4 separate regions of the Homo sapiens genome follow, and regions 2, 3 and 4 are each linked to region 1. The links are contacts of gene promoters, found by promoter capture Hi-C in human tissues and cell types (Jung and others, 2019). All regions are on one chromosome and are shown on one strand. Each heading gives the region's core, a stretch centred on a gene start or on the middle of the fragment in contact. The rest is flanking DNA. Distances are from core to core; before and after follow the strand shown.

Region 1 (6,926 bases), core at 2,773-5,272:
TTGGTAGAGACTGGGTCTCACTGCATTGCTCAGTCTGGTCTCGAATTCCTGGCCTCAAGTGATCTTCCCACCTCAGCTTCCCAAAGTGCTTGGATTACAGGTGTGAGCCACTACACCTAGCTCCATCTCTATTGAAAAAAAAAAAAGTACTTACAGAAAGAAATGTTTTTATAAGTCCTTTACAATAAACCCCTGGAAATCATATATGAAACTAAGCCCTCATATGTGTTGGACTGTTGGGGACACACAGAGATGGGGAAGTCCTGTTTGGAGTCTCACTGCTGCTACTGTCTCATCTTTCCCGCTCGCTTGCGAGTTCTGCTCAATCTGAAGTCCAAATCCTGCTCTCCTAGGAAGGCTGCATTGATATCCACAACATACAGTTCTTTACACTGCTCATGTTTACATGACAGCATGGCCTTTGGAACCAGACATTAGGGGGTTAAGTATTGCCTCTACTGCTTATTAGCTACCTGACCTTGACAAAATAATGTCTCTAAGTCCCAGCTTTCTCACTTGTAAAATGGGGTTATACTGATACCTACTTCTGAGGAGTAAGAGGGCTAAAAAGATACATAGAGCACTTAGCACAGTGCTTGGCACTAAAGAAGTGGTCTTTAGTATTCCACTCATAGTCACATCACATTAACCATATCCAACAAAGAGAGTGGGCATCAAAGCAAGAAACCACAGGGACTTGTGAGGTGGGCAGTTGCTTTGCTTTGGTGTCATCAGTTCAGATTACAAGTGCCAAACTATGTGGAGTGGAGGCCCACCACCTCCCCACCTATCAGCTCCTTGATATAGGGCCTGGCCAGGAACAGCAAGGTCTGTGGCTCTAATCCCAGCTAAACACAGCCATCTAAGGGTCTCTTCAAAAGAACTCCCCCAGGCCTGAGAAAGTATTGAGATACTGAAGGGTGCAGACACCTCTCTTTATGTATTGGAAGCATATGTGCATGTTTCCACCCTCTCCATGCACACTCACCCCCCAACCACCATCACTAAGGGAGACTCCAGCTTTGTGGCAGTTTCTTCCCCCTTCTCTTCTCCAAGATTCTCTGTGCTTTTGTAATAATGAGATAGGAAGTATCAGTGCCCCCTAGCCAAAGACCACCACGAGCACACCTGTAGTTGAACAAGTTGGGTTCATTGCTTGTTGAAGTGAGAGAGGACACGTAGCATGGGAAACCACGTGGCATCTCAGGAAGAGAGCATTGGAAAGGACTTAGAGGATCTGGGTTTGGGTTAGTGCTTTTCAAGAGGGTTAAAGAAGCAGAACTTTCCTTTGTGCTGGATGCTGTCAAGAAGCAAGAGTAATTCTATGATTGGGTATATTAATAAATCTTATCTAGAAAGAGGAATGATTAGAGTGAGGCTAAAGCTGCAATTGGTAAAGAAGCAGCAGGTACTCACATTAGCTAGGACAGCAGGCACTCATTAGCTAGGTCATTTTTGTGACTTGGACAATGTTCATGCTTTTGTATGTGTTAGACATGATTAGAGTGCTGTTGTTTTTGTCTTGATCCATCATTGTTAAAGAACGGCCCTGTCTCACATTGATGCCCTGTGAAATGGCTTATGTCCAATGGGACAACAGTAAGGCCTTGCTGTGAATGTCAGGTCAAATTCTGGCAACACCAAGGTCCAGCTGGGCCTTTCAGATGTTAGGGGTTACTTTTCTCTTTCTCAGAACAGAAGAGGTTAAGAGAGACGTGGGTAGGTGGGATTTCAGTTTTCTGGGGACTTAGGCAGAGAGTTGCTTAGTGTGTGCAAGAGGTGAGCGGTAGGTGGGTGGAGTGGGTTAATAAGAATCGCTCTGGACTGCATCCTCATGGTCCCTAGCAGAGAGTTGCTTAGTGTGTGCAAGAGGTGAGTGGTAGGTGGGTGGAGTGGGTTAATAAGAATCGCTCTGGACTGCGTCCTCATGGTCCCTAGCAGAGAGGTGCTGTAGTGTGTGCAAGAGGTGAGTGGTAGGTGGGTGGAGTGGGTTAATAGAATTGTTCTGGACACTGTGTCCCCATAGTTTTCAAGAAATATAAGTAAAAAACATAACCATTTTTTTTTTTTTTGAGACAGAATCTCACTCTGTTGCCCAGGCTGGAATGAAGTAGCGTGATCTCGGCAGACTGCAGCCTATGCCTCCTCGGTTCAAGCGATTCTTGTGCCTAGGCCTTCCAAGTAGCTGGGACTACAGGTGCGTGCCACCACGTCCAGCTATTTTTTTTTGTATTTTTGTAGAGACAGGGCTTCGCCATGTTGCCGAGGCTGGTCTCGAACTCCTGAGCTCAAGCAATCTGCCCACCTTGGCCTCCCAAAGTGCTGGGATTACAGGCATGAGCCACCGCCCCAGCCAACATGAGCAATTAAAAATTTTTTGTTGTTGTTTGCTGGGCTGTCTTTCTTCTATTTTGATGCTGCTGTGAGACTCTGTGGATCAGGGTCTTAAAAATATTAAAAGTCTTTCAGGCCGGGTGCGGTAGCTCATGCCTGTAATCCAGCACTTTGGGAGGCCAAGGTGGGTGGATCACCTGAGGTCACGAGTTTGAGACCAGCCTGGCCAACATGGCGAACCCCGTCTTTACTAAAAATACAAAAATTAGCTGGGCGTGGTGCCCGGTGCCTGTAATCCCAGCTACTTGGGAGGCTGAGGCAGGGAAAATTGCTTGAACCTGGGAGGCGCAGGTTTCAGTGAGCAGAGATCCGGCCACTGCACTCCAGCCTGGGCGACAGAGGGAGACTCTGTCTCAAAAAAGCAAAACAAACAACAAAAGTCTTTCAAAGCCGAAAGGTTCTTAGGCACTGTCTTAAAGCCTAGCGCTCCAGCTGAAGCTGGTGCCTGAGTCCAGATGGTGTTGAAGAAGGAGCAGGGCCCAGCGGGCACCACTCTCAGAAGTCGGGCTCAGGTGTCTCCTGCCTCCGAACCCAAGAAGACCCAAGAAGACAGAGTTCCTCAGGCTCCCAGTGTCCCTAGGAAGTGGCAACCTTGACTCTTGGCCAGAGTTCAGAGTCCTGGTTATTAACACCAATAAACCTTTATTTGCCAGGGATACTACCATGGGAGGACACAGCCCCTGAGCCCAGCCCTGTTGATCCTGTGGGAGCGGGAGGGCAGCGGAGGACAAAGGCAGAGACCTGAGAGCCGGAGAGGCTCATCAAAGGGTCCCCAGCCCCTCTCAGGAACGGAGCATTTCTTGGCAGAGTGGTATTCATAGGACAGAGTTTGGGAAGTCGGGGCAGGGGAGCCTGAGGACACAGCAAGGAGAGCTCAGTGGCAGGTGCAGGCAGAGCGTTCTTTGGAAAATGGAGATCCTGGAAGGTGAGGGCCTCGAGCGCCAGTGTCCAGCCTTAGTGGGTATGCATATGTCCAGCTCCCTAAGGACACACTCAGGACAGCTAAGGTGCACACAAGTCCAGGGGCTTCCCCGTGCTCCGCCCCCCTCTCCCCCACCCCGGTAGCAGGCTGGAGGGCCCAGACCATGCTGGGTAGTGGGAGAAATGGAAAGAAATGGGACAGGGAACAGGAGACAAGAGCCCATGGTGGGAGTCAAAGAGCTGGAAGAGTTTTGGAAATGGGGGTCTGGGGGTAGAGTTGATCAAGGGCCGAGTTACTCAGCGGGACAGGTGGGAGGCACGAGGCCCTGGCAGCTCTGTTTTCTTGGCCGGGCTTGGGGGGGAAAGCGGGTAGCCGTCAGGCGCCTAAGGGCCCGCCCTGGACCTCCCCACCGAGGGAGGTGTCAGGCCCCGAGGGACCCGGCCCCCGAGCATCACGGACGCGCTGGAGGCCGGTGGGCGGTCGCCGTAGTCGCCCTCCCACCACCTCGCTCAGGTTTCTCCGGCCTGGGGCAAGAGGCCTGTGGCCCGCGCGGGAACGCACTGTCCACCCTCAGACCTGGGACTGGGCCGGCGCGCGGACGCTACCAAGAGGCTGCGGCTCCCGCCCCCGCGGCCGGACGTGGCGCCTCCCCTGAGGCCGCGGCCGGAGCCTGGAGGTGGGGTCGGAGTCAGAGCCCGGGGCTCTGATGTCACCGCGCGGCTGCGACGGCCCAGGAGCGCGTCTCGGCGGGAGCCTCAGGTACGCGGCGGGGGCGGGGGAGCGGGAAGCGGGCGGCTGGGTCCGCTTCCCCCGGGAGGCCGGCGGGGCTGCGGGCGGACGGGGGTGAAGAGCGGGCGGCGAGGCGGTGGTCGCGGGGCAGCCCGGGCATCGTTCGGCCGGGACGTGTCTGGCTCGGCGCCGCGTCAGGTTGCGCCAGTGGAGTCGGACCCCAGCGCGCCTCTCCCAGCTGCAGAGCTGCAGGGCGGAGAGGCGGCCCACTCTAAGCTGGCGGCGCGGCTCAGGGGCGCGGCTGGGCGCGCCGCGTGTGGCGCCGGCGGGCAGCGCGGTCTCACTCCGCCACCCTCCGCTCCTGCCCTTTGTCGCCAAGCATCTGGAGAAGCCGGGTCCTTCCCTCCCGGGCTCGCGCTGTCCCCTGCGCGCGATCCTTCCCCGACGGTGAACCCAACGGGAAAGGCCCAGAACTGCGCGGGGCTGCGGCCATCTGCTGTCGAGCCGCTCCGCGTGTCTCTGCCGCCCCCTGCGGCCGCCGGGGCCTGCGCCTCTCTCCCTCCCGTGCCTCGGCTCCCAGAGATTGAACCCCAGGTAACCGGGTCTGTCCACGCCCGCGGCCGCCTCTCCCCGGGTGTCGCCAGCTTCCTGCATTTCCTGTGCATGGCACGGAGCTCGGGTCTCCAGAGACTCTGCATCTGGGGTGCAGCGACCGATGAGCCCGTAAACCAGTCGCACACTCGGAGCGTGGATGCTGCGTGGGGTGCGCTGTCAGCGCGGACAGGCTGGGAGAACGGGGGACGCTGGGGACAGGGAGAGCCGGTGAACTTCCCAGAACGTCCGCCTAGCCAGACCCAGCTGCGGGTACTGGGTTTTGAGACGTGGTCCAGTACCCAGGAACTCAGTCTGACAGGGAGACAGCGCCTACACAGTGAGCCCAGTACTGAGGGAAGACCCGCTGGGAGGGGCGGCCTGGATAGCCCCTCCACAGAGAGGTCAGATGTGAGGTGGCCTTGAGGGAGGTATGATGTAAATCCTGATCATTCGTTGTATTTGAGGCTGTCCGTTCTCCTGTGCCTCCTCGGTCGCCTTACTTGGATCTGTTCCCATTGCCTTGGTGTGATTTTATCCACCGGAAACTGTCTTCAGCTATTTCCCCAGTAACCTCTAACTAAAAACCTGGGTCTTGCCTGGTCTACCCTCCCCTGCTGAACTCCAGAGCCACATCCCAACTGCTGCCTGACTTGTCACAGACACCATGAAGCCCAGACTGAAGGAGCACTGGCCCCCTTGACAATTCCTCAGCCCCAGCTCCTCCTTTCAGACTGGTGCCTCCACCTGCCAGACCCCTAGCTTTGAAGGCCAATCTCATCTTCGTCTCCTTCCTCTCTGGCTCCTTCATTCAGGTGACAAGTATACATCAAATGCCCACCCCAACTCCCCCTCCCAGGACTCCAATCTGGTGTCTTTCTAGCGGGGAGTCTAGGTTGCTCCCTCTGCTCTGGAGAGGCTTGGCAAAATGCCTGCAGAGCTCCTTGAGCTCCACCTCTGAACTCCCTTTCAGCAGCCGGCACAGGCATAACAGCCCAGCCCACAGGTACCACTGCCACTGAGGCAGGGACCCCTAAGGTAGGGCTACCCCCAGCCACAGGGGCTGGCTGGACTGCAAGAGGCTCCCTGCAGCCAGACAAGTATGAAAATGCCTTGTTGTTTTGTGCTGAGGCCCCCCAAAACACACCAAAGCAGCTGGGCCCTCTTGGCATGGTAGGTTCTGCAAAGCACCCACTGTGAGGAGCCTGCGTGAACATCAACCTGATAGGGCCACCAGTGCAAAAGCATCTTCAACAAGTTACAGTCAATAAGGAAACACATGTGTAGACACATTTTTATTGCCCATTCAAGCTGTTTTTATTTGCTGAATTCAGAATCCTTTAACATAGTAACTCACAAATAAGATAGATTTTCATAGATTTTCAAGACCTCTTTTGAGGAAACATCTTGTGTTTGGTGATCCCCATCTGTAGCTGCAGCAAGCCAAAATGGGCAGGATGGGTGACATGAGCTAGTGCTCCCAAGCTGGACTCAGAAAGAGTAGGAAGAGAAAGGGCTAATGTCTGAGCAGTCGGGTGGGCTTCCTAGATGAGGGGACTGTCCTCCCAGGAGCTGCTACTCAGAGTAGTTTCTTGTCCTCCTAAAGTTTAGAGTGGAAATACTTTGCAAAAGAGGTCCCCAACCCTAAGTGTGAGGGCTAAGCTCCTGGGCTTAGTAGGCATATACAAATGCCCCCAGGTGGGTGACATCAAGATGTTCTGGTCCTAGGTCTGCTGAGAGCCTCTCCTGGGAATGTTGTAGGTACTGCCTTTCCCTTTTAGGAAACACCATATCCTCCTACCACTAACCCCCATCCTTGCCCTAACCAGCAATCTGTAACATCCTGGGCCTCAGGGACGTGGGTGGAGGGTGACTCTGAGCTCCAGATAGTGTCTAGGAGGCTCAAATAAGCCTGCTTTTTGGTCCTCACCCTAGCCGTGGGCCACCCTACTCTGCACTCCCTACCAAGCAGCTCAGAGAATGGAGGCCAGCGCCCAAAAGTCTCCATAGTTCATAGGGAGCCCCAAACCTCAACACTGCCCTTTCCCAAGCCTCAAAATTTCTCTTACCCTGACCCAGGCACACCCACTCAACTCTTACCCTTGATCCCCCTCCCAGGACCAGAAGGGATTGATTTCTGGTGAGTCCTGCCCCAAGCTGTGCTTGCCTGCTCTGTTCGTACCTAATATTGCATGAGGAACCTGGCCAGTGTCTATGGTGGCAAGTGCTTCACCCATTCTGTCCTCTTCCCCAGAAAAGACTAATAGGGAGGGAAGAAGCGTGCGCAGAA
Region 2 (3,142 bases), core at 643-3,142, 190 kb after region 1:
AAGGAGAACCTGCATGATCTCAGCCTATCATTCACCACAAAACAAAATGCTCAGAACAACGCTGATGCTCTCACATAAAAAATTACATCAGCTACAACCAACTTGAGACCAAAGGCTAGAAACAGAGACAATGCCATTTATCTGTAATTTTAATAATCCTGTAAGATGAGCAACCTTAAAAATTCTTGACCTGGCTATTTGCCTGATAATGGGATCTGTTAGAAAACTTCGACACGTTTTCTAGAGCCTCTCACTTTTTCTCTGCTACCTTTAAATTTCCATATTCTTGTGTATAATCCTGAGACTGAGAGAATAAAAAAGAAAATCCTAGGTCAAAGTATCAGGAGTATAGAAATGTGGTTTCAGTTAAGCTTACCTGTAGAAAATCCAAGTAACTGGAACTGTTAGGCATTTTCGTGGTTACTAGAAACCTAATACTAAAACCCTCAGACCCACTGAAACCATCTGAGGATACAAGACACACAGAATTGAGAGAGTAGGGCTATTCTAGGAAGTATAAACTACTCTGGTGTGAGCTGTAAGTCCCCTTTCCCCCTCAGTTTGTGGGTGGGTGCGCACACATCAGTGAGTTGGTAATTTTAGAATAGTTTATGTCTTTTCTTTAATGCCTAGGCAAGCCAGAAGACAGGGCCACAGCTTGGCCCTGTGAGGGACAGGCATTTCCTTCCTGTCTTTGAATCCAAACTGCTGTCAACTCTACCACCACCCACTCACATGCAGAGCCCCTGGCTGGCTGCTAGAGCCTCAGCAAAAGCCAGTGTTAGGTAGGCTGGAGGCCCACCTCCATTATTTGTTCTCTCCCCTCACACCAAGGAGACAATTATTGCTAATTAATTTTCATAACTCAGAATAGCTACAAAAAATCTTTTTCCTCAAGATATTTTTGAAAGTATTTTTAATTCAAAGAGACCATGTTTCAAACTCTGTATTTTCTCATTTATAATTACCACTAAAAATCATCAAAGCACGTAGGGATACTGATTACAGATCACAAGTTTGTCATTTTTGTAGACTATGATTTAGACAGTAATCTGCAGATGCTTTAAATTGGGATCAGCTGTCTAGGCTGACAACATAATACATATATGCATGGCATGTTCTTTTTTTTTTTTTTTTTTGAGACGGAGTTTCGCTCTTGTTGCCTGGGCTGGAGTGCAATGGCACGATCTCGGCTCACTGCAACCTCCGCCTCCCAGGTTCAAGCAATTCTCCTGCCTCAGCCTCCCGAGTAGCTGGGATTACAGGCACATGCTACCATGCCCAGCTAATTTTTGTATTTTTAATAGAGACGGAGTTTCACCATGTTAGGCTGGTCTCGAACTCCTGACCTCAGGTGATCTGCCCGCCTCGGCCTTCCAAAGTGCTGCGATTACAGGTGTGAGACACCATGCCCAGCTGCATGGCATGTTCTTTAAGCAAAAACTGCAAACTATGAAAATGAGTTAGATAATGTAAGCATCTATTTCTATGATTTTAGAATTTTATTTAAAAAAAGTCAAGGGCCTAGAGGTGTTATCAAGTGTAATCTTCTGCCTTGATCTGAAAGCAGAAAGCTCAAGTATCTGTGACATCTTTGTTACAAACCTGTGCACAGTGAAGGATCCAGCCTTGTTCCCCAAGGATGCCATATTCCTGATTCTTTAAAACTTCATTCCTCTTCCTGATTTCCAATGTAGGCTGTCCTCACAGAGCCTTACCTGAAGCCAGATGGCCTGACCCAGCAGCTAAGTCTTTGTGTATGCTGTGGTAGGGACTTAGTTCTATGAGGGGCTACTTTCTTAATGAGACTCCTTACTATACTGGAATATTCATTCTAGCTTAAGCTAGAATCTGGTTTGCAATACTATTATGTCATTGATTCTGAAACATCTTATGGTTATAATTGCATTTTTTCATTCCTGCTGGCACATAAAATAGTGGTATGTCTTATAACTGATGAGACAGTGACCTTATTCTGATAAGGAGTGCCATGAAAACTCTAACGGGTCTTCAGCTTCTTGTTCTACATTTAGCCTATCCTGTGAGAATGCTTCAGGCCCTTCTTTTAAAAGTCTACATAATGTTGCAGGAAATGTTGGTTAGCTTCAGGAGAGTGTAATAATAGTAGCTGAGCCTGATTCATTTTATATAGCAGCAAAGAGCTTCCCACCATTCAGGTGTAGCCTTGGGTGCTTCCACTGCACTGATGTTTGTTTCTCTCTTTCAGTTACTTGGGTGAGTTGGCTCCCCAGGCTTTTGAGATACCTGCCTTTTGTCCAGCACTGCATCGTCCTCGCATATCCAAGGCTGTGTCTCCCTTCAGCATCACCACTCGGTAGTTATAATTCCGCCTTTTATCAGAAGCTGATACATTTTCATCGGCATCAGACCGTATTTCTATGTATTCAATATCTGACACAGGAAGAAGAATATTTTAGAGGAACCTATGCTCTGTAGCCTTTTGTCATTTACAAACATATCAAGTAAGCCTAGGAACAACAGATGAGGCTGACATTACCAGAGGAAAACAATGGCTGGTGTGGAAACTCTTTCTCTGGCTGGGAGGATTCAAGAGCCTGGTGGTCTGGCCAGAAGCAACCCAGATGCCCCAGTTCCTCAGCCTCAACTCTTTCTTAGTTTCCCTGTTAAGAGTTTCCTCCAGGCCAGGCGCGGTGGCTCACGCCTGTAAACCCAACACTGGGAGGCCAAGGTGGGCAGATCACCTGAGGGCAGGAGTTTGAGACCAGCCTGGCCAACATGGTGAAACCCCATCTCTACTAAGAATACAAAAAATTAGCCAGGTGTGGGAGCGCGCACCTGTAATTCCAGCTACTACTCGGGAGGCTGAGGTGGGAGAATCACCTGAACCCAGGAGGTGGAGGTTGCAGTGAGCCAAGATTGCACCACTGCGCTCCAGCCCGGGTGACAGAGAAGTGCGAGACTCCATCTGGAAAAAAAAAAAAGAAAAAGAAAAAAAAAAGAGTTTCCTCTGGATGGTTTTTCTTATTGCATTTTGGCTTATCCCTATCTACACTATGACAGAACCTATTATGTCATCAGCTAAATATAATGCCTACTGCAGTCAAATATGTAAGTCCTGTTAGGCTCTGGAACAGAAAACTTTACATTTTCTTGCTACAAG
Region 3 (6,926 bases), core at 2,357-4,856, 160 kb after region 1:
ATACGTAAGGCCACAGTTTTATCATAACAAAAGCATTCAAATCAGAACCAGCCAAAAGAGGAGACACAGGGGCGAGATGGAGGAGGGGCCCAAACACAAAGCTCTCATTGTCTTCCCCGTGTGGCGTCAGAGGCATCACCTTCTCAGCACTTTGACGTGTGACAAAATGCTGACTATTTCTAAGCAGGGAGGCTCACTTGAGCTTTGGGGTCCAGAGTTTTTATTTGAGTCTTATCATATAGGTGTGGTTGATGGACTCATTGGCCACTGGGTTGAACTCATCTTCCTGGTCTCCTTCCGGGAGGCCAGGCTGATATCACAGAACCTCAGTGGCGTGGCCAGCCCCTCCATGGTCGTATTGTCAGCAAAAACTACCTAGGGCCCACCATGAGTCACTTCACTCGCATAAACTCTCAGAGACCACCATGAATAATAAGATACTCCTATCACTTGGGAAATCCCTAGGAATTTGGGGCTACCTCCTGGGAACTGGTGACAAGGACTAGCCACGTTGTTTACTCCAAGGGTTTGTAGCTGGTAGGACCTCCCAAGAGCCAGGACAAAGGCCAGACTTCTTGGATAAAGGTTGATTCTTCACTGCACAAACTGGAGGAGAGTTATGAGAAGAGCAGGTGGTTGCTTCCAAAGCAGGTGGGGACTTTGGATCCGATGAACTATTATGTGGAATGAAGTACAGCAGCGGTTCCAGTTAACACAGGAGGGAGCTCATCAAGCTGCGGACTTGCTGGGTGGAGAGCTTCTGCCAAATAGGTTCTCAAGGAGAGTCGGGGATGCAGAAGGGGAGCTGGTGGGGAGGGCGGGGTTCTGGGGCGTCTGTGGGGGCAGTGGAACAGCCATTTATGTGTCCATCTGGTGTTTTTCTAAGCACCCACTAAAGGGCAGACCCTGGGCTTGAGGCTCTGAGGGCAGAGCTGGTGAGTGAAAAGGGAATATTAGGTGGGCACCTTCAGCTCAGAAGCAGAATCCAGCTTGTTTTGTTTGTTTCAATGGTGAAATGAGGCCAAAGATGAAAGGATAAACTGTCCAGAACATTCGAGAGTGACCAGGAGTCTCCCCAGAGGGCAGAAGTGGGGGATGGGCCATCCTCGCCTGCAGGGACAGCACCATGGCAGCTGCAGGTGCGGCAGGTGGGTAGAGATGGGGAAGGTGGGTGCCTGCATTGTCAGGGACAAAGAGGAGGGCAGTGATCACCACCACTACCACCACTGCGAAGGAGTCTCCGAGCCTGCAGGGCCATGGGCAGTGCCTTGGCGGGGTGTGGTGGGCCTGACACCAAAGTTCAGGAGGGAGGTTGAATACTGCTGTCTCTGGCTGTGTCGGTCACAGGCCCCTTCCCCTCCCCTGTGTGAGAGCTGAGAACCAGCGCCGGCCCCTCCATGGATGCAGAGTTTTTCCTTCAGGCCCTGGAACGTAGCAGTTATGAGCACTGCGTTTGGGAGTCCAGCAAATGAGCCCTTATCAACTCTGTGACCATGAGTAGATCATTAACTCTCTCTGGGTCTCGATTTTCTCACCTGTGAAATGGGAATAATGTGGCTCTTCCTTGTGAGGAGCAAGTGAGTGGTTCCATGGAAAGTACTTGGCATGTGTCATCCAGAAAGGGGGTCTGTTAACAGAGGCTGCTATAGTACACGGTGGCTAAGAGAGCGGACGCTGGGCCCAGGTGGTCTGTCAGGCCTGGCTGCTGTGCCTCCTGGCTGTGTGACCTTGGGCACGCTACTCAGCCTCATCTGTGAAATAGGGGTCATAGCTGTCCCTGTCTCATGAAGTTGCTCTGAGGAATGAATACATTTAAAGTTTTCAAGTATTTAGAATAGTGCCTGGCACACAGTGAGTGTGATGATGATAATGATGACTCCTATCTTGAGTTGCTGAAATGACTGATGCTTCATCTATTAGGCAAGCCCAAGTCTGGACAGGGCAGTGGAGATCTGGCCAGACGGGCCCTCCCCACAGGTTCCTCCTGGATGTGCCTCCTCCGTCTTTGAGTTGCCGTCCTTGTTTCTGGTGGGTCACGGTCTCCACACTGCAGCCCGCCTACTTTAGTATCTGGATTCATTACAGGGAACAGACACAGCTGTGGGTGCTTTAGTCAGGAAAGGATTTCATGCAGGAAAGTAGGTGCTTCTAAGAATGTCAGGAGGGCTGGAGGGGCAGGCTCCAGGCTGGGCCCAGAACCCTAAAGACCTGACCCACTCAGCGAGCCACCCCTGAGGCTGCAGTGCCGGGATTCCAAAGCTGCTGCCTCTGCTGACCCCCTACACTGTGAGTCTGCTCCAGGAGACTCCCGGTCTGACTTCCACACCATGAGTCTGCTCAAGGACACCCCTAGTCTGAATGACCAGGTACATGGTATCTGCCGCCCTCCCCTCCACAGCTTGTCAGCCTTCATCTAATTGGAAAAGCCAGATGCTCGCTTCAAAGGAGTCAGAAACGCGGCAGTCAACTAGGAGAAAGGAATACAGGTCGCACAATGCAGCCCAGTCTCCACGGGCCTCGTTCATTGATGCTTGCTGTCCCAGCCATTCCTGTGGTCCGAGTCGGGTGAATCTCACCTCCCTCCTCTTCTGTCAGTCCTGCAGGCCAGCACCCAGGAGAGTGCTTTCCAACCCCCACAGGCTTAGTCATGGAAAAAGGTGAGACTTCTCTGAGGGAGGGGCACTTAAGCAGAGTTAGGGATGAGCCGGCTTTAGCCAGGAGCAGGGGCTGCAGGGTGGGGTGAGTGCAGGCAAGGGACAGCAGGTGGAAGGCCCCGAGGTCACTGAAGAGAGGGCTCCCAGGAGGGGAGCACGGGCCGAGGGGACCCAGCCAGAGCATTGCAGGCGCCCGTGACAGAGGCAGCTGGCGCGAATCGGGTGGGATGGTGGCAGGGAGAGCTGTGGGCTCTTGAGTCATTTGGCCCAGCACAGTGTCTAGGTTAAGACCTGGTGTCTTGGTGCCCACGGGACCTGACTGGTTCTGAATCCCAGCTCTGGGTGACCTTGGAAAAGTTCCCCCATCCAGGCTTCTCTGTAAAACTGGGCTGATTACAGGGGCGAGGGAATACTATAGAAGGTGACAAATATGAAGTGTTTGGTGTGGTGACCGGCATATTGCAAGCCCCCGGAAAATGCCAGCAATCACCATCACCACCACCATCATCATTAATAGCACTTGGAAGTGACTGAATGTGGGGGTGAGGGAGAGCAGGAAGTCGCAGGTGGCCCCAGGTCTCTGGCTTGGGGAGGAGGCAGGGGAGAGGGCAGGCGGCGGGTGGGAGCCACCAGCTGAGGGGCTGCTACGGGCCATACTCTGAGAACAGGGGAGGGTCCAGCCTGCAGGCAGTAGACATGGAGGGTGACTAAGCCAAGGGGAAGAACACAGTGTTGCTGGAAAAAGGGGTCCCGATTCAGACCCCGAGAGAGTTCTTGGATCTCGCACAGGAAGGAATTCAAGGTGAGTCGTGGTGTGTGGTAAAGAAAGGATGTAGAAAACTACTCAGAGTAGGGTGTCCTCAGAAAGCATGAGCAGGAACGCCTTGTCTGCTTAAAGCTTTTCTTATATAGGGGTCTTGTCTATACAAAAGCCAAGCTACATTATGTCTATGTGCAGGTGGGCTGACAGTGTCACAAAATTTAGTACTTTGTTGATTTAAATAATGTTTTATCCTTGGCCTTTTAGTGAGTAAGTACATCAAAGCATTACTGTAAATAGCTTGAAAGCATATATTGTTATGAGACATCAGGACACCCAGACATTCTGCTGTTGTAGGAGTTTGTCCTTGCGGGCGTGACTAAACTGCTTCCTTGGCGTAAACATCTCATGACCATGGGTAGTGACTGGCAAGGAATATGCCTAGCTAGTTTTAAGATGGAGTTGATTTTAAAATGGTGTCACCCTGGCTCTCCTCCACTCCTGTTGACCTAACAATATGGCCAAGGGGTGAGAGAAGACAGGGGACAAGAAATGAGCCAGGGCACTCCTGCGACACTGGAAGGTGGTGAGGCAGGGTGCAGAGTCCAGGCATGAGAGAGGCCCAGGGAGGAGGAGCAGTGGTCAGCGGCAGCAATGTTCCTCGTAGGTGAGGCTAGATAAGGGCAGACATGCGTTGCTGCACGGAGTGGAGTTGATAATCAGTGACCTCATGAGATATCTGAGTGCAGTTGGGGGCACAGGAAGTGGCCAGATGAGGTGGAACTCAGTATGGGCATCTGGGAGGGCAGCTGTGTTGGGCTGCAGGCTGCGTCGTAGGTTGTCAGCTGTGTTCTGAATGGGACACAATCAAGCACAGGCTGCCCCAGCTCAGCGAGCGGCAGCTTCATCCTTGCAGTTGTTCACACACAACACGGGAAGACCTCACACGCTCATATCCAAGCCACCCCAAAGCCTCTCCTTTCACTGATGTGACATCTCGGATTGGTGGTGGTGGGGAAGGGGCGGGGGTAGAGATGGAACAAAATTGACAAAACTGGCCATGAGTTGCTCATTGTTGACGCTGGGCAATGGATGCTTGGGAGTGACTTTCGTGTATATTTGAAATTTTCTGTAATAGAAGATTTTAAAATTGTAATTGCATAGCAAATGTAAATATTAACATATATGCACATTTATATATTATATATTTATATCTATACTTTATGGATTATATAATATACTATTTAAGTAAATAATGTATACGATAGCAGTATAATGTATACATGCATCTTACACACACGCCCCTCTCCAGTCCTCCACTACCACAAGCACCATCGCTCCCCACCAGCATCTCTGCAGGCACCTTGGCGCTCATCTCCCTGCTCCGCCTTCGCCCTGCGTTGCGTTCTCCACACAGCAGCCACGGTGACTTTGTTAAAATGTGAGTCAGACCACATCACTCCATTCCACTTAGAATGAAGCCCGGTCCTGGCCTCTGAGGCCCTGCTGGGCTCCTGCTGCCCTTGCCGTGGCCTCTGCTCCAGCCCGAGGGCCACCCGTGAGTGCTGGGAAGGGCATCCCCAGCTCGCTCTTGCTCAAGACCTTAGCACCTGCAGTTCCCTTTCCCTTGATGACTTTGCCCCGATCTGTGCATGGGTGTCCCCTCCCCTTGTTTCGTCCCGATCTCTGTTCCCATCTTATCTCATGGGGAGGATTTCTCCAACCTCCTCGCATAACACAGCACTCTCCCTGCTGTGCAGCCCCGGACTGTTCTATTTCCCACGGTAGCGGCTACCACCGCCCGACACACTGAGTGTTCTCTCGTTGGCTTATTCTGTCTCCCTGCTAGAAGCAACCTTGTTTTGTTTAGTGGACCCCCAGCACCTAGAGCAGGGTCTGGCACCCAGGCAAGGCCTCAATCCATACTTGTTGAATGAATGAGTGGAGCTCCATTTCCACGGAGCCACTGAGACGTGGCTGAAGTAACAACACTAGAAGTCAGGGACACAGCTGGGGCTTGAAGCTGGGACTAGTTTCACCCTGAGCCCCCGGCTATATGCTCTGCCTGTGTTCCTGAGAGGGGAGGGGATGGGGCCCAGAGCACAGACACATGGAGGGCCCCATCCAAGGGCACAGGGACCGAGGGGAGGAGAGAAACGAGGCTGGCAGGCAGTGGCATAGACTCCGCTTTGCGGAGCTGTGGGGAAGTAGCTCTGCAGGCTGTTGGCTTCTCTTGCCTTTCAGAAGCAGGTGGAAGGTCCTTCTCCCAAGAGAGGCAGAGCTGCTGAGGAGTCTGCAGGAATGCTCCATCTGTCCCCATAGTGTTAATGTCACTTCAGCCTCAGAGCTAGATGGGCGGCCTACCCTTTCCCTTCCCACTCCCGCTGGCTCCTGTGCCCTGGCAGGCCAGGGCCTAGTGAAGACCCCCAAGAAGGCAGCACCTTCCTCTGTCTTTGGCAATGTGGGATCTGATGGGTCCAAGAGTGCCCAACCCATGGGAGGAGCGGTGCTAGTCCTGTCTGGCTGAGGGGCTGCCTTGCAGGCCCCTGCAGACCCCCACCTCCTCTCCCGAGAGGGCCGGCTCCCCAGGGAGGACTTAGGCTGGTCTGAGGGGTGCTGGTGCTGGTCCAGCCGGGGGATGCTGCAACCAGGTCTCCTCACTGGCCTGTCTCGGTCCACATCCTCCATGGAGCAGACATCACGTTCATGTTCTTTTTGCTTTTTAAAAATGAAATTTATCCTTGTCTCCCATTGGAAAATGAATGCATGCTCATTATAGAAAATGTGGGAAACAGATCAGAAGAAAGAAGAGTAAATAAAAATTGCCTTTTCCAATGTGGCATCACCACAGCTCCTCTGGCACAGGGCCCTGGGCTGGGCAGGGAGTTGTGGACTGTGTGGCCAACAGGCCATCGGGCTGTGGGTCTACAGGGGATGCCATCGGTGGCTTGGGCCTTCCTCCCTTGAGGGTTTGGGGAAATGGTGTCCAGCCCCCGCACAGTTGTCCACAGTGATGCAGAGAGTGGAGCTGACGAGAGTTGCTATATTTAATTTTGGTGCCTGCGTCACCTCTGACCACACAGCAGCGTCTGCCCAGGCAGGCAGCACATGGCTGGGGGTGTTTCTGAACGACGCTGTGAGAGAATCACTTTCCCCAAGAAAAGGTATAGCAGAGGGGAAGGGAGAGACAGCAACAGAAAGTGAGGTCGTAAGTAGAAAATTGCTTCTGGGATTTCAAATGGCTTTGTCATGGGGCCCTCCCTTGCTGCCGAGAAATCAGTTGATCTGGGAAAGTTTGTTGCAAACCCTTGCCCTCTTGCTTTTGGGTGGAGCTGAGAAATGAATGAAGATAATGGGGCTTTATGAGTGTGGGGGAGGGTAGCTGAGGAGACAGCCACCAGTCCTGACCCCAGCTTGGACCCCTAGAAAGGCCAGATAGGAGCTGGCCAGTGTGTCCCTGGCCAGGCTGTCCTGTCTGGAACATAGTCAGCCTGGCCCCAGCCGGACCTTCT
Region 4 (6,926 bases), core at 3,117-5,616, 140 kb after region 1:
TTATTTTTACTTTTTATTTTTTGAGACAGAGTCTCACTCTGTTGCCCAGGCTGGAGTGCAGTGGCGCAATCTCAGCTCACTGCAACCTCTGCCTCCCGAGTTCAAGCGATTCTCCGGCCTCAGCCTGCCAAGTAGCTGGTACTACAGACGCAACACCATGCTCGGCTAATTTTTGTATTTTTAGTAGAGATAGGGTTTCACCATATTGGCCAGGCTGGTTTCAAACTTCTGACCTCGTGATCTGCCTGCCTCAGCTTCCCAAAGCGCTGGGATTACAGGCGTGAGCCACTGCACCTGGCGTCAAGTGGCTTTTTTAAAATGTGTTTTTTGTAGGGGTGGAAACTCCTCTGGTCATTCCAGGGGTCTTCCTCTCCCCCACTTCCAGCTTATGTAAAACTCTTACCTGTGTGTAGAACATGAAGACAAAATTAAAGGCCTGCCCTGGCATGTACAAGATAATAAATCGTGCTGCCTTTTCCCCCTTTGCCCCTCTTCTGCAATTGAGTTCTGGAGCTATGGTGTCCAGTTTCATCAAGCGATACCACTGAGCCACTCCCTTACAAACGCGTCTGTTACTGCCTGTGTTGTCGGGATGCTGCTGAAGACATTGTCCATCCTATCATCTTGTGAAGATTCTCGAGAAATTTCTTTTAAAGCTAAGTACCAGATTATTATATCAGACTATTTTCTCCCCGCATATATAAAAAGAGTGAAGTAAAATAATGCGTTTTCCACTGTGCTTTTGCTGATAGGACTATAATATCTGATGACCTGCTTATAGTCTTATTTTTCTCTGGATCATCATTTCCTCCTACTCCCTTTCTGCTTTGGTCCTAATAATGTTATTTTCTGTCTTAATCTTTTCCAATAAATCACTTTGAATCCATTTTTAAAACAAGGTAGAGTAAAAATCACTGAAGACCACCGTTAGCCTGTGCCTTTACAGAAGGAGTTAACACAGTTCTGAAGCCACAGCCTGAACTTAAAGCGAGCTGGAGGAGCCTTCCAAACACATTTATTAATTATTATCTCAATTTCTCTGTCTTAAGCTGTTTCATTTGCAAAGCAAATCAGGTATTCAGTCCTTTTTCGGAAGTTGAACAAATGTGTGGGAAAATGATTACGAAGAGGCTACTTCAAAAAGAACCTGTTTCCTCTCAGCATTTATCTTGGGCTTCCTGTGACCCAATCTTCAAGTGACTTTTATCAACGTTATCAGAAGATCAGATTGTCTCACCCAAACACGTTTATGGCTCTGACTAAAGAATATGACAGATCAGATATTCCTCTCCACCTGCTCCCCTCCCCCATCCCTTTTTAGAGGGCTGGGGAAATTTTAGTTTTTAATCAAAGGCTTTATTTCTCCAGTTGTGCAAAGGAATTTAACTGGGACTTTACAACTGAATAAAGTATTTCTCAGAGTCGATACTAATCTTAGCAAGAGGATATTGCCTAACCCAACCTAAAAGCAGCAGAGTCATTACAGAAATATTATGTTGGCCTTGATTTCTACCCCACCATGAGTTATGCTACTCACCAGGTAGCCTGTTTTGTTTTTCATTTTTAGAGACAGGGTCTCACTCTGTCACCCAGGTTGGAGTGCAGTGTCACAATCATAGCTTACTATGACCTCAAACTCTTAGGCTCAAATGATCCACCTCAGCCTCCCAAGTAGCTGGGACCACAGGTGTCTGCCACTACACTTGGCTAATTTTTTAATTTTTTGTAGAGATAGGAGCTTGCTAAGTTGCCCAGGTTGGTTTGGAACTCCTGGCTTCAAGCAGTCCTCCCGCCTTGGGCTCCCAAAGTGCTGAGGTTACAGGCGTGAGCCACTGTGCCCAGCATGTGCCCTGTTTTAAGTGTATCTCCTGCTGTAGTCCGTTACATGTGCACATCTCTTCTGTGTTTACTGTGTACCTGCTCTATGCTGAGAAGAATGTCTTTTCAAAACTCACACCCTCCCTTAGGAGAGAGAGGTGGCCACATGAATGGAGAATGACTGCATAGCATGCTGAGGGCTGTGGTAAAAGAGGCTGAATGGTGAGCTGCCAGGTACGGCATCCTTCCTGTGCAGCTGACATGGTGCCTGACACATGTCTGCCTGACCAAAGGGGCAGAAGAGGCTTCTCAGGGGAAGTTCTGTTTGAGGTCTTCAGCAGTTCAACAGCTGGGGAAAGGTATTCCAGGAGCGAGTGAGTTTGGATGCCATGTGCGTTGGTGGTGTGCTTGAAGTAGAGCAAACGGGGTGGAGGCAAATGAGCCTGAAAAGGAAAGAGATGGGACAGGATCCTACTGTGGAAGAGTTTTCTGTAAGCAGTGGGAAGCCACAGAAGGATTTTAAGTGGGCCATTCACATTGTGTTTTATTTTGAGACAGGGTCTCACTGTCACCCAGGCTGGAGTACAGTGGCATGATCAAGGCTCACTGAAGCCTCAACCTCCCAGGCTAAAGCAATCCTCCTGCTTCAACCTCCCAATTAGCTGAGAGCACAGCTGTGTAAAAATTTAATTTTTTTTTTTTTTGTAGAGACAGGATGTTGGCCAGGCTGGTCTCGAACTTTTGGGTTCAAGCGAAGCTCCCATCTCAGTCTCCCAAAGTGCCGGGATTACAGGCGTGAGCCACTGCACCTGGCCTATTTGTGTTTTAGAAAAACAACTGCTGGGCCGGGTGTGGTGGCTCACCCCTGTAATCCCAGCACTTTGGGAGGTTGAGGCAGGTGGATCACGAGGTCAAGAGATTGAGACCATCCTGGCCAACATGGTGAAACCCCGTCTCTACTAAAAATACAAAAAAATTTACCTGGGCGTGGTGGCATGCACCTGTAGTCCCAGCTACTTGGGAGGCTGAGGCAGGAGAATCACTTGAATCCCGGGGGCGGAGATTGCAGGGAGCCGAGATCGCACCACTGCACTCCAGCCTAGTGACAGAGTGAAATTCTGTCTCAGAAAAACAAAACAAAACAAAAAGAAACAACTGCTGGAGAGTTTGTGAAGGATTAGAGGGAGCAAGACGGGATGCTGGTTGGGATGGTGGTTGGGAGAGCAGATGCTATACACACCTGTGTCCCGGAGGTGGAAAGGGTCATCAGCCAGAGGAGTAACCGCCCTCTCTTCTCAGCTGTTTTGCTTGCACTCGTGATTGGTATAAACTGAGGGAGCAAATGTGTGTCCTCTTATTCACGTTGCCTAGTAAGTACCCAGGTGTGCAGTGAGCATACAAAACATCAAAACATATTTTCGTTTGGCTGAACTCTGGCTAATCAGAAACTAGAAGGAACAGACAGCTTAGAGACTTAAAGTTGGACTAGGAAGAAGTTGACAGGATGGATTAGAAGATAGCCACTTTAGGCTGGGTACAGTGGCTCATGCCTGTAATCCCAGCACTTTGGGAGGCCGAGGTGGGTGGATCACCTGAGGTCAGGAGTTCAAGACCAGCCTGGCCAACACAGTGAAACCCCATCTCTACTAATAATACAAAAAAATGAGGCAGGTGTGGTGGCAGGCACCTGTAATCCCAGCTACTCAGGAGGCTGAGGCAGGAGAATTGCTTGAAGCTGGGAGGTGGAGGTTGCAGTGAGCCAAGATCTCGCCACTGCACTCTAGCCTGGGTGACAGAGCGAGACTCTGTCTCATTAAAAAAAAAAAAAAAAAAAAAAAAACAACAACACTTTAGAGAGCCAAGGAGAGGGTGTCTGGGTACTTAGGGCAAAAGCCCAGTTGAGGAAACGCTGGGCGTGACAGCTAACTGGGGATTTTAGTACTCCACCTGGGAATGGAACTCAAACTTGAGCTAATAAATTGAATCTAGAAATCAGCCCCAAGGCTAGAGAAAGTGCCTGCCTTGCTCCTAGTGGAAGCTACTAGAAACTGAGAAGCCAACCCTGTGTGTCATAGGCCAGGCTGTGCCTAGCTCCATAAGGAAGCTCTGCGTTGTGCTTAGCCTTGAGATTCCCATCCTTAGATAATGTGGGCACCCTGAGATTATGTGAAGGAGGGCAGAGAAAAACCAAGAGCAGGGTCAATGACATGGACAGCAACAAGCAGAGCCCCCTTGGCATTTGTAACAGAGGTGACCCTTTGTAACTGTAGCCCAACAATGTTTCCATAAAAGACAGCCATAGATTTGAGCCAAATCATTTTTTGATTCATTTTTCCAATAAATAATTATTACCCCCTAGATGCCAGTTACAGATAGTTTATTCATTGGCAAAAGGTGGAGGTATGATAGCCAGGAGGGAAAGGTTCAGACTTACTGTCAATGTCATATTCCACACACAGACAAAAGGCATGTCCCATGAAGCAGGCACGGGCTGTGGCTGAGTTTGCTACATAAATGTGCTCAGATGACAAGCATCTTAACTTTCACTTAATCCTGAAGGTTTTTCACCCTCTGTTTTTTGTTTTGTTTTTTTTTTTTTGAGACAGAATCTCGCTCTGCCGCCCAGGCTGGAGTGCAATGGCACGATCTTGGCTCACTGCAACCTCCACCTCCCAGGTTCAAGCGATTCTCCTGCCTCAGCCTCCCGAGTAGCTGGATTACACGTGTGCACTAGCATCCCCAGCTAATTTTTGTATTTTTAGTAGAGACGGGGTTTCGCCATGTTGGCCAGGCTGGTCTTGAACTCCTGACCTAAGGTGATCCGCCTGCTTCAGTCTCCCAAAGTGCTGGAATTACAGGCGTGAGCCACTGCGCCCGGCCTCACCCACTGTTTTTATAAGTATCCCCCTCAATTTGTGTTCTCATTGTCTTCGGAAATTCAAAGGCTTGTTGTTGTTGCATGTTTGCATCCAGAGTCCAGGACTGCCTGACTGGGAGTAAATGGAAATGTGAGTTGCATCTTGCCTAATGAAGCTTATGTGATGACAGACCTGCTTAGAGTCTGCATGTGTCCTTTCCATGGCGTGCTCTAAATCTTCCTACTTTCCTTTACCATCCTGTCCTCATATACAAACTGTAACCCACTACCCATATCCTGTGGCAGACTACAACTCACATTAGCCATTGAATGCAAATGAGCCTCAATCAAAGAAGAAAGGAAATTAAAATTTACAGTATGTGTCTTCTCCGGTTGGCCTGAGGAGCCTCCATGACTCTCATAGCTATTTATTGCCCTTGGCATGCTGGTATTTTATGTGGGCAGGGTGAAACTGGCTGTGGTCAGGGTGAGACTTGAAGCTTTTGATTTGTTCCCTTATTTTGAAAGGGTTAAAAAGATGTTACATGTTTTGGTGTAATTTTAGTACTCATATTAATTTTGTCACATCTCTGTAAGCGAGGATGAAAAGAGAGTGCTCAATCACTGTTACTAGATCCATATTCTTACAGAGAACAAGTCTTCAAAAGGCAAGTTTTGATGACACTTGGGTTTTTTTCCCCCTTTTAATTTCTTTTAAATAACAGCTTTATTGAGATAGAATTCACCTACTACGAAATTTATCCTTTTAAAGTGTACGAGTCAGTGCTTTTTAGTATGTTCATAGAATTGTGCAACCATCACCATTATCTAATATCCGAACATTTTCATCACCCCTGAAAGAAACCCCACCCCCCATTATCAGTCACTCCCCATGCCTCCACACCCGCCTCCCACCCACAGCCTGTAGCAATCAATATTCTATTTTTGCCTCTGTGGATTCTCCTGTTCTGAATAATTCATATCAGTAGAATCATACCATATGTGGTCTTCTGCATTTGGCTTCTTTCCCGTCACATACTGTTTCCAAGGTTCATCCGGGTTGTGGCCTCTGTCAGTACTTCATTTCTTTTTATTGACAAATAATATGCCATTGTATGGATATGCCACTTTTTGTTTATCCATCAGTTGATTGACATTTTGGTTGCTTCTACTTTTTTTTTTTTTTCTTTGAGACAGGGTCTTATTCTGTCGCTCAGGCTGGAGTACAGCAGCGCAGTCATAGCTCATTGTAGCCTCAACCTCCCAGGCTTGAGCCATCCTCCCACCTCAGCCTCTCCAGTAGCTGGGACTACAGGCATGTGCCACCATGCTCAGCTAGTTTTTTGTAGAGACAGGGTTTTGCCTTGTTGCCCAGGCTGGTCTTGAACTCCTGGCCTCAAGTGATCCTCCTGCCTCGGCCTCCCAAAGTGCTGGGATTACAGGTGTGAACCACTGCTCCCAGCCACTTCTACTTTTTTGCTATTATGAATAATGTTGCTATGAACATTTGTGTAGAGGTTTTTGTGTGGACATGTGTTCCTAGTTCCCTTGGGTATATACCTAGGATTGGAATTGCTGGATCGTAAACTATTTTATCCTTTTGAGGAACTGCCAATTGTTTTCCAAAGTGACTACACCATTTTTCAATCACTCCAGCAATGTAGGAGGGTTCCAATTTTTCTACATCTTCACCAACAGTTATTGTCTTTTAAATGTTATTTCTTTAATGAAAAAACTTCATTTATGCACATAACACACACACACACACACACACACACACACACACACACACACACACACACACACACACACACACACACACACACACACACAGACTTATAATGGAAAGCCGAAAGTCTCCAGCCCTGTTTCACCCCTCCTTAGTCCAAGTCCCATTCCCAGCAAACCATCTTCCATTTTTATTTTTAGTTTTTCCAGTGACTATCATTATAATTCCAAAGATTGCTTGATTCATTATTTTTTCTTCTCTTTTTATTATGAAAACTTTCAATTATGTATAAAAGGAGAATAGTATAACCAACCCCCTGTACACATCCCCAGCTGCAACAACTGTCAACCCATGACCACTTTTACCCACTGTTTTTTGCTTTATCAGTGTTAGATGTCATACATTGATTTCCCTATTGAAGAAAGAGAATTTACCTAATTCTATCACTTCCAAATTTTTATAGTAAATTATTTTTAGTTCTTCTATTACCTTTGTGATTTTGATAAATCCCTAAACCTTGTG

The links. The method cuts DNA at HindIII sites, captures the fragments that hold promoters and counts their contacts. A contact is called where the count stands out against the background at its distance.
Region 2: a fragment that was not itself captured here is called in contact with the fragment with the promoter of SHROOM1 in region 1 in 2 of the 25 tissues and cell types used here (hippocampus and lymphoblastoid cells).
Region 3: a fragment that was not itself captured here is called in contact with the fragment with the promoter of SHROOM1 in region 1 in 1 of the 25 tissues and cell types used here (lymphoblastoid cells).
Region 4: a fragment that was not itself captured here is called in contact with the fragment with the promoter of SHROOM1 in region 1 in 1 of the 25 tissues and cell types used here (heart right ventricle).

Annotation. Positions count from the first base shown.
Region 1 is chr5:132,827,743-132,834,668 of GRCh38, reverse strand. It overlaps SHROOM1 (shroom family member 1), which reads left to right and starts at 4,022. Exons shown (of 10, transcript NM_001172700.2): 1 at 4,022-4,075. RefSeq lists silencers at 3,714-4,133, 4,344-4,653. The HindIII fragment of the contact is 17,651 bases long and covers 1-6,926 here.
Region 2 is chr5:132,637,351-132,640,492 of GRCh38, reverse strand. RAD50 (RAD50 double strand break repair protein) reads right to left here. Exons shown (of 25, transcript NM_005732.4): 23 at 2,270-2,412. It overlaps TH2LCRR (T helper type 2 locus control region associated RNA), which reads left to right. Exons shown (of 3, transcript NR_132125.1): 3 at 2,228-2,445. Among named protein-coding and RNA genes, the nearest start is that of TH2LCRR, 17 kb to the left of the region's middle. RefSeq lists an enhancer at 795-874. The HindIII fragment of the contact is 4,174 bases long and covers 1-3,142 here.
Region 3 is chr5:132,663,875-132,670,800 of GRCh38, reverse strand. No RefSeq gene overlaps it. Among named protein-coding and RNA genes, the nearest start is that of IL4, 6.7 kb to the left of the region's middle. RefSeq lists enhancers at 5,315-5,842, 6,639-6,926. The HindIII fragment of the contact is 7,573 bases long and covers 1-6,926 here.
Region 4 is chr5:132,683,312-132,690,237 of GRCh38, reverse strand. It overlaps a transcript of KIF3A not described here. Among named protein-coding and RNA genes, the nearest start is that of IL4, 13 kb to the right of the region's middle. The HindIII fragment of the contact is 4,749 bases long and covers 1,992-6,740 here.